Regions from separate parts of the Homo sapiens genome. Here all the other regions are linked to region 3. The links are contacts of gene promoters, found by promoter capture Hi-C in human tissues and cell types (Jung and others, 2019). All regions are on one chromosome and are shown on one strand. Each heading gives the region's core, a stretch centred on a gene start or on the middle of the fragment in contact. The rest is flanking DNA. Distances are from core to core; before and after follow the strand shown.

Region 1 (4,310 bases), core at 1,410-3,909, 61 kb before region 3:
ACCATGTCTGTAGTATTCATTCTGCTATTTACTTCTTCCTGTGTGGGTTTCAATTTTGGTGCTTTACATTTTTAAGTTCTATATCATGCTGGGTAGGTTTTTCCTTCACGTCTGCTCCAACCGCTTTATCTTGTGGAAATTCCTCCCCGATTTGGTTATTCAAGTACCAATCAGCATGCAGTTTTCATTTTCATACTTTTCTGAATCTCCTTGGATATGTTAACAGGAAATTGAGAGAGACAGAATCAGAGGCTGCATCTAATTGCTAAGTGATTGTTACTATTATATTAAGACTATAGGCCAGGTATAGCATCTCACACCTGTAATCTCAGAACGTTGGGAGGCTGAGATGGGGGAGTCACTTGACCTCAGAAATTCAAGACCAACCTGGGTAGCATAGTAAGACTTGTCTCTACAAAAAAAAAGAAAATCATCAGGTATGGTGGCACACACCTGTAGTCCTAGCTACTTGAAAGGCTGAGGAAGGAGTATCACTTGAGCCCAGGAGTTTGAGGTTGCGGTGAGTTATGATGGTGCCACTGGACCCCAGCCTGGGCAAGAGCAAGAGCCTGTCTCTGAAAAACAAAAAAGAAAGACTACAATGTTTTACAGGACTGGATTCTCTGGATATTCTTTCATGGTTTGGATACTGTGTCAACATGAGAATCATTAAAAACAAGCAAGAGAATCTTAAAAAAAAAGAAGGAAAAATGATCCCCAGCATTGTCACCACCAATGACCCCGTCTATTTTTTCCATTGCAAAAATCAGGCTTTAAGAGATATCTTATAGATAAATAATATTTAATGATTAATAAGAATTAATTTGAGACATATGCCATTGCAAAGCAGAGTTTCTGGTTAGCATAAAATGTCTGGTTGGAATTCATAAAATTTAGCTAAAAGCAAAAAGTCTTAATAAGCATTTCTTGAGAACTGACTATCTGTCAGGCACTACCCTAAGTGACTTCCCTGCATCAAATCAGGTGAGCCTCAGAAGCAACCTATGCTGTAGGTACTATTATCACCCCTATTTTACCGATGAGGAAACTGAGGTTCAGGGAAGCTGAGTAAACTGGACAAGGTTTCACAGCTGGTGAATTGTGATGCTGAATGAAATTCAGACAGTCTGGCTCCAGACTCTAAACTCTTAACTTTGTAATGCACAATTGACCCTTGAATTAGACCTTGTGGTGGTTTGAATGCAAATGAATAATTTCTGATAGTTTCTGAAACAATTAAAATAGCACACAGACATCAATTACTACCTGTGGGGGCACCCACGTAGAAGCCTCTGCTCTAAAACTAGAATACTGATTTGTGTCCTGAGCCCTGCATTGAACAAATGTTACATACTCCCCATCATTATTACAGGGCCCAAAGATTGCTAAGACATTATCAGATACAACCATGATATATTAATTGGCAATACATAGAGATGGGGCAGTGCTATCTAGCGGGCTTGTAACCCAACCAGAGTTTCATTTTTAAAAGCTGGGCCTATTAAAAGAGAAACACCTCATCCAATAGGCTATTATCCTGCAAATATGTATTTAGGGACATTTGAAATTGTTCTATTTACCTAATCATCTTTAATGGCTACTTTGGATCTATGACAGCTATATGTGTAAATACGGCTCTTAGATCTTTCTCAAGGTATGATACTGGTCCAATAGACCATAACAACTTCTTCAGGGAACAGGATTTCCTTGAAGCAGAATCTATGGAGTATCAAACAGGGCTCACAGTGCTTTAGGAGTTGCTTCTGAGGTCATTTCAGAATGCTCTCCTCAGAACTCCTTGTCAAAAATTATTAGGACATGGGTACGGACCACTAAGATCTGAATATCAATAAACGTGAAAGCCAAACATTGATTTAAAAAAAAATAAGAACAGGGTCAGCATGATTCTTCATGGGCAATAAACCGATAATAGGCAAGGAGAAGTAATTAAAAAAGAGTTTGTGCAGCCAAACCAAATATATTAAGCAACAAAGCTATGATAATACCGGTTACTATATAGTAAAGTAGAAATTGCTGATTTTAGACAGAGGGAACACAGATATTATTCCAATATATTCTAGCATATTGAGAAATGATTCACTTGACTGGTGAAGTTCATCCCTCACTGTGATATAACAGGACATGCATAATTGCCTCTCCCCAGCTGTGCCTATGGGACTATGGCATAGCTTACAAGACCCTGCTCAACTTTTATATTAGTTTCCTGTGGTTGCTATAACAAAGTATTACAAACTGGGTGGCTAAAAACGACAGAAAGGTATTCTATTGCCATTCTGGAGGCCAGGAGTCTGAAATCAAGGTGTCCACAGGGCCATCCACACTCCCTCTAAAACCTATGTGAGAGTCTGGGCCTGGTGGCTCACGCCTACAATCCCAGCACTTTGGGAGGCTGAGGTGGGCGGATCACTTGAGGTCAGGAGTTTGAGATCAGCCTGGCCAACATGGTAAAACCTCTACTAAAAATACAAAAATTAGCTGCGCATGGTGGCATGTGCCTGTAGTCCCAGCTAATCAGGAGGCTAAGGCAGGAGAATCGCTTGAACCTGGGAGGTGGAGGTTGCAGTGAGCCGAGATCATGCCACTGCCCTCCAGTCTGGGCAACAGAGTGAGACTCCATTTCAAAGCAAAAAACAAAAAACCAACCAACAAACACTGTATTGGAGGATCCCTGCAGGCTTTTCCTAGCTTCTGGTGATTTGCTGGCCACCCGTTACCTTTCTTGGTTTGCAGGTGCACAGTTTAAGTCTCTCTTCCCTTTATCCTATGTCATTCTCTGCACGTATGTCTTCGCTTGGCATTCTCTTCCTTGTCTCTCTCTTTCCCCTTCTGGTAAGGACAGCAGTCACATTGGATTAAACACCTACCCAAATCCAGTAGGGTTTTATCTTAACTACATCTGCAGGACCCTATTTTCCAAATAAGGTTGCCTTCTGAGGTACTGGGGGTTGAGTCTCTAACATACCTTTTTGGGAGTCATATGCAACCTGAAACAGCTCCCGTCCCTTTAATATCACTCTTCACTCTGCATTTGTGTAGTTGGCAGGTCTCTAGCCACCAACTTGCACCTGCACCACCATCCTGACCCTTACCATAGGCCACCTGATACTATCATCTGTTCTGCACTGTGCCATCTGCTCTATGTCTTGCCTCCCTAATTGTATTGTAACTCTTTGGTAAAGAATTCTTACTCAAACTTATTTCTCACAAAGCACTTAAAACAGTGATTTGATATCAATAGCACCTTCTACTCTTAGAGCAACTTTATACTTTTAAAAATTATTTCACATACATTATCTGGCATGTTTCTTTCAACCTTCCCACGTGGTAGATTGGATTGATGGTATTATCCTAAATGTCAAAGGGAATTAAGATCCAGAGAGGCGAAGTGACATGCCAAAATGCTGAGACAGTGGGCTTGGGCTAGTCTCAGCACCTTGTATTGAAAAACTTCTCCTTCTTATTCTCATTCTCTGTAATTTGATTTGTAATGAACCAAGAGTCCTTCTGGGAAAACAAAACAAAACAAAGCAAAATAAAACTCCTTACTCTCAAGGCAAGGCACCTGCAATGAGTGAGAGGAGGGAGGGGATAATGGATGAATCTAAAGTCTGTCTTTTCTGTGAGTGGAACTGGAAGAAAGTTGCAAAACCACACAGCCTTCCTGTTTCCTCAATCAGGCCTTGCTTTTTTCCTCCAGCATAGCAATGAAAAACTTTGACTTTTCTTAAATTTCTGACCCCATGACCTATTCCCGCAGTCTGAGATGGCTGTTTCTCCTCCTTTTTTTTTTTTTTTTTTTATAAAAAGTATCCAGTGGAAACTCCTTCAATATCCTTCCACCTACCTGAAAAAAGGCTAGAATTGGGGAGGAGAGGAGAAAGGGTGAGTGTGAGCGGGGACAGAAGTTAGTGGCATCTGACTAAGGGTCAGCTGACTAGAGCTGTGTTAGCTGGAAAGACTGCGCCGCCTCTTTGTGCACAAGCATTGGAGGGTCCCTAGCCCCAGGGAGCCGCGCGGGGATAGGAGGCAGACTGCTTTGAGCAGGAAGGTGGCAGAGGAAGGAGCCCCTGTTTGAGAAGAAGCTCTCACGCTGTGAACACCTCTTTCCACTTCTTTCTGTCTTTACTGGGACTCATGAAGGAGAACTTGGAAAATCATAATTAGCTTGGAGAAGATAAAAGAGGTCCTCCTTGGTGGGAGGGTGAGGAGAGCGATGGAAAGGGAAAATGAGATAGGGAGGGAGAGGAGGAGGAGGAAGAGGAGGAGGAAGAGCAGACAGAGAGAGAGGG
Region 2 (4,676 bases), core at 366-2,865, 62 kb after region 3:
CAGTATTCAAATTCTTCTGGAATGATCTTAAGCTGGCCTGCAGGTAACATTCCCCAAGTCCACATTTACAGGTCGGGATGACCCATTGAGAGGAAACTGGATGAACAAAATCCTGGTGTTCAGCCTTACCTGGAAACGGGCAGAATACCTGCTGACAACTTCTGTCATCCCAGACAAATAGCTACTTTACAAAGCTCCAGATTGAAAGTGAAAGACCAGAGATGTTATGATTTTTTTAAAGAGAATAATCAGTTGACCGGTTCAAACAATTAATGAAAATCACATGGTGTTCCTTACGGTGATGGGACAGTAGTCATGGGGTCTTGATGACTATGTGAGGTGGGCGAAATACTGGCTGCTATTATTTATGCGCTGAGGACTGGCTCTGGGACAGATTTTCTCCTTTCCTGCTCTCCTCTCCTCTCTTCCCCCAACTCCCACCTCAACAGTCCTACAAATCTATGAGGTTTCACATTGGTGCCTTTCCCTACTCACTCTTCAGTACTCAAAACACCCTGAACTGCAGTGTGGTCTACCCTGAGGCCTTTGTTTTCAGGTCTTGGAAAGTGTGTGTGTGCAGGATCCCCGGCTCCTCCAAGCATGAGATTTCTAAGCATGTCCCTAGACCACCACTGTGCCATCTCGTACCTTAAAAACTTCTTATGATATTAATGAGGAAAGCCACGCTGCTTTCAGCGATGTGTAGATGCTTTGGAGAACTCAGTGGAATGGGTTATTTTACTTTCAGATGAATTCATTTTGAATAAAAAAATATCCAGGTATTGTGTTTGTTCTGCTCATGAAATACCTTCTGTCTGCAGATTATCAAGTATCTTGACACTTTGTCATCCAGACAGACACTTTTTTTTTGGAGGGGAAGGAGTTTATATGGCTGCTTGACAAAAAATGGTAAGCCTAGCCAGTGGAGACACTGATGACCCTGTTAGGTCTTTTGCTGGTTAGGAGACATCCTGCTTTCCAAGATTCAGTTAATTAAACAACACTGGTTCTCCCCTCATCCTCCTTTGAGCGTAATTTAGACAGGTCAGTCGGCATAACAGTCTCCTAACCATGAATAGCATGACAAGTGCCTGGCCCACCTGGCTGAGAATCACTGTTCTTTACTCTTCTGGGAGGGAAGTGGTGCCTCTCATTTAGTAAACTGTTTGGTCACCTTTGTCCCACCCCCTACTCTCTACCTGGCCTAGGGAGGCCAATTTATTACTCCCTTCTTATTGCATCTTCAACTTTTGAACTTTGGTTTCTCATATTATTCTTTTGTTGCAGTGGCAGGCATCTATTTCTAGTTGAATAGATAGTCTTCTCTTTCAAAAATTAATATGCAAGAGAAATGTTTAAAATTAACTTTTTAAAGCAAATGATGATAACAATTAAGGTGTCATTTACATTTTCTCCATTTCTTGTGTACTGTATTTTACAATTTTCTTCTTTTGTTGCTCAGTGACATAGAAGAACTGGAATTTAGATTTCAGTTAGTAAGCTGAAGTCATATCATAGCTGTGGGATTGAACGATGTGGGGTTGAGTCAAACACAAGGAAGTACTGGCAGCTCCAGTAGCCGAAAAGTGGAGAAAACGGTTGTGGTTTTCTCCAGGAAAACCTCCAGTCTAGACCTTTAGAAAGAGATCAAGCCAGCTTCTACTGCCTGGGAGGCTTCCTGCCACATACCACTCAAACTTTGATATTGCAAAATCCAATGCCATCTTTCATTTCTATGCAACTTTTAATCTGCTTAGATGTGGAAAAATATCTCTTAAAAACTCCTTCAAGATTTTTTTTTTCCAAATTGTATATTCAACTTTTGCTTTTGTTGCCTCTAGTGTTGGGGATTCAGAGGGAGGGCACTGAGGAGTTTGAATTCTCAATGTTGTGAATCCCTTGTCTGCCTTCTTGGGTGCAAATTGAACCAAGGTCCTGGACCTGCCTTTTTTGGTTACTTACCTGCTTGCCCTTAAGCTTGTGGTATCATTTCCAGAGAAATGGAAATTTCTTCCCAGAAAGAAAATCTCCCAAAGACTTTTAAACAAGGGGCCTTCTATCCCCACTGATAACACATCAGGTTTTTTTTTTAGTCTCAAATTGGAAACTCACAAGAGCCTAGCACCTGGTTACTGCCTGACCTGGCAACTGCCTGATCTAGCAAAAACTCAGCTTTCAAGGGTTGAACTCTGGAGGCGGAGGTTGCAGTGAGCCGAGATTGTGCCACTGCACTCCAGCCTGGGTGATACAGCAAGACTCCGTGTCAAAAAACAACAACAAAAAAACAGATTCCTGGTCCCCATCGCAAACCCATTCCATTCAATTACATGTGGGTGGCGCTTGGGGCAGTTCTGACGCAACCCCCAGGTTTGAAGGTCTCTGGCCTGGGTAACCGGGTCTCCTTCAAGGGAGTCCCTTGAAGGGTCCCTTTCAAGGGAGGCATGGCAAGCAGGTACAATTTAACCAAATGACCCTTTTTATCCCAATGAGAATATAGGAGCTTGGAAGAAACCGAAAGGGCTGGACCCTGAAAGTAGCATGAAATCCATGTCTGCCTTGCAATCTCTCTTTCTCTCTTTCTTTCTCTCTCTCTCTCTTCCTCCCTCCCTCCGTCGTTCTCTCTCTCTCTTTTCTTTCTTTCTCTCTCTTTCTTTCCCTTCCTTCCTTCCCTCCCTCCTTCCCTGCCTCCCTCCTTTCTTTCTCTTTCTTTCTTTTCTTTTCTTTTCCTTCCTTCCTTCCCTCCCTCCCTCCCTTCTTTCTTTCCTTTCTTTCTTTCTTTCTTCTTTCTTTCTTTCTTTCTTTCTTTCTTTCTTTCTTTCTTTCTCTCTCTCTCTCTCTCTCTCTCTCTCTCTCTCTTTCTTTCTTTTTCTTTCTTTCTTTTTCTTTCTTGGTTTTTTTCTTTCTTTCTTTCTCTCTCTTTCTTTCTTTCTTCCTTTCTTTCTTTCTTTTTTACTCTTGTTGCCCAGGTTGGAGTGCAATGGTGCAGTCTTGGCTCACCACAACCTCTGCCTCCCGGGTTCAAGCGATTCTCCTGCCTCAGCCTCCCGAGTAGCTGAGATTACAGGCATGCGCCACCACACCCGGCTAATTTTGTATTTTTAGTAGAGATGGCATTTCACCATGTTGGTCAGGCTGGTCTCAAACTCCCAACTACAGGTGATCCTCCCACCTCCGCCTCCCAAAATGCTGGGATTACAGGCGTGAGCCACCACACCCGGCCCCTGCCTTGCAATTTTTAACAGAAGTAATCCCAGCACCACTGTGCAACTTGGAGTCTATTTGCTTCTCTGATTTTGTCCATAAGGAGTGTAACAGAGATTTAAATATGAATTACTTTTTATATCTTTTGTAAAACATGAGGCAACACAGAGGCTTTTTTTTTTAATGCTAAAATAAATCAGTAGTACATCCTAAGCAATATTCTTTTGTATCCATGGAGTGGTTTAGTGACCACAAAAATATTCCTGTCTCAAAATACTTGTAATTGGGGAAATAAGCCAATTTTATAACAACTACCACCAGAAAAAAAAAAAAGCTAAATTAAAAAAATTGCCTTCTGAGTATTTGGTATGATTTATACTCAGAACATGTCAAAATATATTTTTAAACTATTCAATAATTGATAAAACAAAAAACCCCTACAAATTGAGTATGTCCTTTGAATTAACAATTCCGTTTTAAAAAATTTATTTTTATTTTTTTGGAGACAGACTCTTGCCTAGGCTGGAGCAGTGACGTGGTCATAGTTCACTGTACCCTCAAACTCCTGGGCTCCTTGACTTAACAATTGTTTCTATTTTACAAAAGCAATGCCATAATTACATAAAGATGTATGCCCCAGGACAGTAATTGGACTGGCATTTGTAACTGAAAAACAACAAAAAAAATCTATTCATTAATGTATATTTCAGTGATAATACAGTGAAATAGCACATATCCACTATAAAAATGTATGGACTTGGAAAAAAGATATCATGATATATTTGTTAAAGTGAAAAGTATGAGTTATGGACCAAGAAATTTTATATAATTCCACATTTAAAAAAAAGAGTTTACATGCACATATGTATGGGTATGTGTAAATGCACAATGGACTCGTGTGTTTCAACTTAGGAACAAGTTAGAAAGGATACAAATGAATGTTAACAGTCACTTTGTGAGGTGGGATTGGATTGTACTTTATAGAATTCAAAGAAGTGATAGAATTATGAATTATATTTGGTACCTTTTTTTATTATTTTAAAAAATCCTAAAACAATGCCTTTAGGTCAGGAGGGAAACCTTAAGGCCGAAGAAAGATCCATGGGAAAACCTTGAGCTGACACTGCTCTCTGCTGGGAATCTAGCGCCATGCACCGCTTTGGTTTGCATCTGGGCTCCGCGGTAAGGTCCCTCCGCGCTCCGGGAAGGAGACCCGGTTACCCAGGCCAGCGACCTTCATACATGGGGGTTCCACGTCAGAACTGCCCCAAGCACCACCCACGGATAATTGAATGGAACGGGTTTGCGATGGGGGCCGGGAATCTGTTTTTTTTTTTTTTTTTTTTTTTTTTTGAGACAGAGTCTTGCTCTATCACCCAGGCTGGAGTGCAGTGGCACGATTTCGGCTCACTGCAATCTCCGCCTCCCGGGTTCAAGCGATTCTCCTGCCTCAGCCTCCCTAGTAGCTGGGACTA
Region 3 (4,428 bases), core at 968-3,467:
CCTCTCTTTTACAGGGACAGAGAGAGCCTTGGCCATATTCCAAGGCCAACAGGAGGCTTCTGGACTTAAGTTTAATTCAGTTGGTGACATCCTCATCCTGGTTGTCCTTTCTCCTGTTAGGTTTGCTCTTTCAGAGTTGATATTCAGTGACACAGGAGGATGGAGTTGCAGAACAGAATCCTTGGGTGTACAACTCATCCAAAATCATACAAAGTGCTGGAAAATACCACTTGATTTTCCCTCTCTCCCCTTCAAACAGGTAGCCAGAAGCAAAAAAAATGACCTACAGTATGCACTGGAGGAATGACTTAGGTATTAAAACTTTCACTGTCTCTGTTGTTTCATTGTCTCACCAGTGAAGAATCTGAGATTTCCACGCAAATCTCCAATAGCTTTGGTGTGCACACCTCTTGCTCCCTGACCTTGGCCCCTTGTGCTTTTCATAGAGACACCCTGGGGAAGGCAGTTTTTGATCATAATGGTTGTCACCTGAGCTGGCATTACCAAAAAGCTGGGCTCCAGCTGCCCACGCAGTACAGGTATGGGTAGTAAGGATAGCTGTTATACACGGAGACCAGGGAGGCCCGGGAGAAGGCCTCCTCTTTCAGGGCCGGCAAAGAGGAGTGCTTCTCCAAGTCTCCCAGCTCCGAGGAGAGCTGCTTTCGCTTAGTCTTATAGCGTCTGTTCTGGAACCATATCTTCACTTGGGTCTCCGTGAGCTTGAGGTTCTTGGCCAGGTGGGCCCGTTCAGGGGCCGACAGGTACTTCTGATGGCTGAACTTCCTCTCCAACTCGATCACCTGAGTGTGGGAGAAGGCAGCTCGGGAGCGCTTCTGCGGCTGCTTAGGGGTTTGGGGAAGCCTTGGAAGGGCGCCTGAAGTGTTTTCAGAGTCCAACAGATAAGACCCCAAGTGCCTTTCTGGAAAGGAGAGTGGGGAAGGAGGGATGGGAAGACAAAAGTTACATGTTAGCAGGGAAGAGAACAGAATTCAATCCACCCTTATCTCTTTAGTGAGTGAACAAACAGCCCACTGTCATCGTGGATACATTTCACTTTTTTCACATGACTAAGGAGCTCTCCGGAGTGAAGAGTGAGTAAATATGTTTATTACGCATTCATTTGCTAAGAATCATCAAGAACCCAAAGTTAGAGACGTTTCGTGGTTGAACTTTCTCCCTACTGTCTAGTAGAATTATATGGGGATTCTGGATCTGTGTGCTGAGGAGAGGCGGGAGAGGGAGGCAGGGAAAATGCCGTGGAACAAGATACCCGGGAAGGCCAGACCAAAAGACATCCGGTGTTAGGATCCAGGTGGGCAAGAGAGGGCTTGTGCCACTGGAGACGCAGAGGCAGGCTCATTCTGGGCTTTAATTCCCTCTTCGCTAAACGAGGCGTTCGGTCGCCTCATCAGAAGTGACAGGAAAGAAAATAAGTGGACTCTCTCTCCTGGACACCGGAGGGAACCCCGAATATACCGCTTTACTGCCCACGGGATTGGGAAGCACACGGAGGCTTTGCTGGTCAACCCCTGCTTTGTCACTGTTAATAAGTTATTATTAGTTCTCATAACTACCGGGGGGCTGGCGCCGATCGCGGGTGGCGCGGGGCGGGATCCGCTCCTGGGACGGTGGAGGGCGGTGGCGCTGCAGTCGCGCCGGCTTCTGAGCCCCAGGGAGCGGAGGGCACGGAGCCGGGCGAGTCCTGCGGTGTCAGAATCCTGCGCCGCCCTGACGCTGGGGCTCAGGGTTCATTCCGGGGGCGCGCGCGTGGCTGCGGAGGCGGGAAGGTCCCTCTGCCTGTCGCCGCGGAGCCCCGCGTCCCTGCACCCCGAGCTCTGGGGGTCCGCCTTGGGCTGCCCCCCTTCCCCGGCCTCGCCGCTTACCTGGCTCGGTCTCTGCCAGCGTCTCGGCCTCCTCCGGCGCGGCGCGGGGCCCGGTGCTCAGCTGGTCGTTCTGCGCCCCGGCGCGGCTGCGTCCTCCCTCTGGCTCTGGCTCTGGCTCCGGCTCCGGGTCGCGCTGTCTCTGGCTGCTCGTGCGGCCGCCTTGCCGCTGCGCGCCGTCCCGCAGGATGTCCTGGATGAGGAAGGACGTGAGCGGCTTGGACGGGGTCGGCGGCGCGGCCCCCTCCGCTTTCGCCTCCCCGGGCCGCGGCTCCGGAACCCTGAGCATCCCGGCGGCCCCGCCTTGGCCTGAATGCACCCGCCCGGCCCGCACCGCTTTCACTTTCCGCCTCCCGGCTCGCTTATAGCCCAGGGGAGCGGGCCGCGCCGCCCTCCCATTGGCCGCGGGACGGGCCGCGCCGCGGATTGGCCGCCCTGAGCCCCAGGTGACCCCGCCGATCTGCGAGCCCTGAGCACTGCCCCGCTCCGCTCCTCCCTAGGGGATTCCTTCCCCAGTTCCCTCTCCTTCCCCAATTCCCTCTCCTTCCCCAATTTCCTCTCCTTCTCCAGCTCTCCTCCCTCCGCCCTGAGCCGTTTTCCCAGGCCAGGAGCGCACCCCAAAGCGGGGCTCCTCTGCCCCAACCCACCCGCAACAGAGAGAAGCTCCTGGGGATGGGACGATCAAGACAAACAGTCCAGTTAGCTCTTCAGGACCGTCAGAGCCAATTACAGGGGATGAGCACGCAGTCACTGCAGCCGCGCGGTACCGTGAGAGTTCTGGGTGCTCTCTCTCTCTGGGAGAGATGGTGCAAACTCAGATCTGCAATATCTACGACCTCAAAGAGGCATGACAAGTAGGTGCAGCCAGACCCCAGGCTGAAAGAAGGAAAACACCTTTGCCAAAGCCTTTTCCCGTTGCAGAAGTGGTTTTCTTTGGTGGTTCCTTTATCCGCAATAACCTGTTAACTTTCCTTCCTCCCCAGACACATGACATACCATCCTTTTGAAAAGTTTCCAGACGGATGGAAGGCGTTTTAGGCCAGGACAAATGCAAAAACTGCATTTAAAAAAGTAGTTCAAAAGAACATCAGCATACTCTTTTTGCAGATTACCAACTGTTAACATGTAACCCATTGGCTAAACAATGGGTTAGCCAGATTGGTCCAACCGGTACTGTGACTGGACTGGACGGTACCGTGACAACAGACGAAAGTGGAACAGAGATGATGGAAGTATTTTCTTTCCTTGTCTTTTCTCTTCTTTTTTTTACGGACAGGGTCTCCCTCTGCCGCCCAGGCTGGAGTGCAGTGATGCCATCATAACTCACTGCAGCCTCGATTTCCTGGATTCAAGTGATCCTCCTGCCTTGGCCTCTCAAAGTGCCAGGACTACAGGCATGAGTCTCAGTGTCAGGTCGATGATGGAAGTATTGAATTAATGTTAAATTTACTGAAATTGCACATTGTACTGTCAGTGTACAAGAGAATATTTTTAGGAAATAAACACTGAAGTAAGTAGGAGCAAAGGCACAAGATTTATGAAACTTACATCAAATGGTTCTGAAACAAGGATGCAGATTGATAGATCCCACGCCATAAAGCCGATGGGTTAAATGGTAACAGTTGGTAATCTGGAAAAAGGGTAGGCTGATGTTTTTTAGAACCATTTTTTTAATGCAACTTTTTTGTCTGTCCTGGTCTAAGACGGCTTCTATTCAACTGGCAACTTTTCAAAAGGATGGTATGTCATGTGTCTCTGGAGGAAGGAAAGTTAATAGGTTATTGCTGATAAAGCGACCGCCAAAGAAAACTACCTGTGCAACGGGAAAGACTTTGGCAAAGCTGGTTTTCTTCTCTCATCTTTTCAAAGTCTCTTTATATTAGAACATTCTTTAATGTTTTCTTTTGAATCATTGTAGATTCACAGGAAGTTGCAAAAATAATACCTCCAGTGTCCTCCAAAGACATCTATACAACTGTAGGACAATGTAGAAAACAGGAAATTTACGTTGGGACATTACAGTTAACTAGACTACAGACGTCATTTATTTATTTATTTAGAGATAGGGTCTTGCTCTGTTGCCCAGGCTGGAGTGCAGTGGAGAGATCATGGCTCACTGCAACTTCAACCTCCTGGGCTCAGGAGATTCTCCCACCTCAGCCTCCTGAATAGCTGGGACTACAGGTGTGTGCCACCCTGCCCAGTTAATTTTTGTAGTTTTTGTAAAGATAAGGTTTCACCCTGTTGCCCAGGCTGGTCTCAAAGCCCTGGGCTCAAACAATCCTTCCGCCTCCACCACCCAAAGTGCTGAGACTACAGGTGTGAGCCACTGTGCTGGGCCTTATTGTGGTTTAAATTTTTAATTTGCATTTCACAAATGCCTAGAGATGTTGAATACCTTGTCATGTGCTTGTTTGCCATCCATATTTCCTCTTTGGTGAAATATCTGTTCAAGCCTTTTGCTCATATTATAATTGAATTTTTCTTTCTTTTATTTTTTAACCATTGAGTTATGATAGTTCTTTATATATTGCTGTTTGTAAGTCTT

Evidence for each region. The method cuts DNA at HindIII sites, captures the fragments that hold promoters and counts their contacts. A contact is called where the count stands out against the background at its distance.
Region 1: a contact is called between a fragment that was not itself captured here and the fragment with the promoter of NKX3-1 in region 3, in 1 of the 25 tissues and cell types used here (mesenchymal stem cells).
Region 2: a contact is called between a fragment that was not itself captured here and the fragment with the promoter of NKX3-1 in region 3, in 1 of the 25 tissues and cell types used here (mesenchymal stem cells).

Annotation. Positions count from the first base shown.
Region 1 is chr8:23,618,940-23,623,249 of GRCh38, forward strand. No RefSeq gene overlaps it. Among named protein-coding and RNA genes, the nearest start is that of NKX3-1, 62 kb to the right of the region's middle. The HindIII fragment of the contact is 6,055 bases long and covers 1-4,310 here.
Region 2 is chr8:23,743,633-23,748,308 of GRCh38, forward strand. The region is part of intron 3 of LOC107986930 (a long non-coding RNA gene); the gene reads left to right. Among named protein-coding and RNA genes, the nearest start is that of NKX2-6, 39 kb to the left of the region's middle. The HindIII fragment of the contact is 5,091 bases long and covers 1-4,161 here.
Region 3 is chr8:23,680,721-23,685,148 of GRCh38, forward strand. NKX3-1 (NK3 homeobox 1) reads right to left here and starts at 2,218. Exons shown (of 2, transcript NM_006167.4): 1 at 1,884-2,218; 2 at 1-919. The coding sequence starts at 2,169. The coding sequence ends at 501. The region is part of intron 3 of LOC107986930 (a long non-coding RNA gene); the gene reads left to right. RefSeq lists silencers at 1,800-1,849, 1,890-2,399. The HindIII fragment of the contact is 20,085 bases long and covers 1-4,428 here.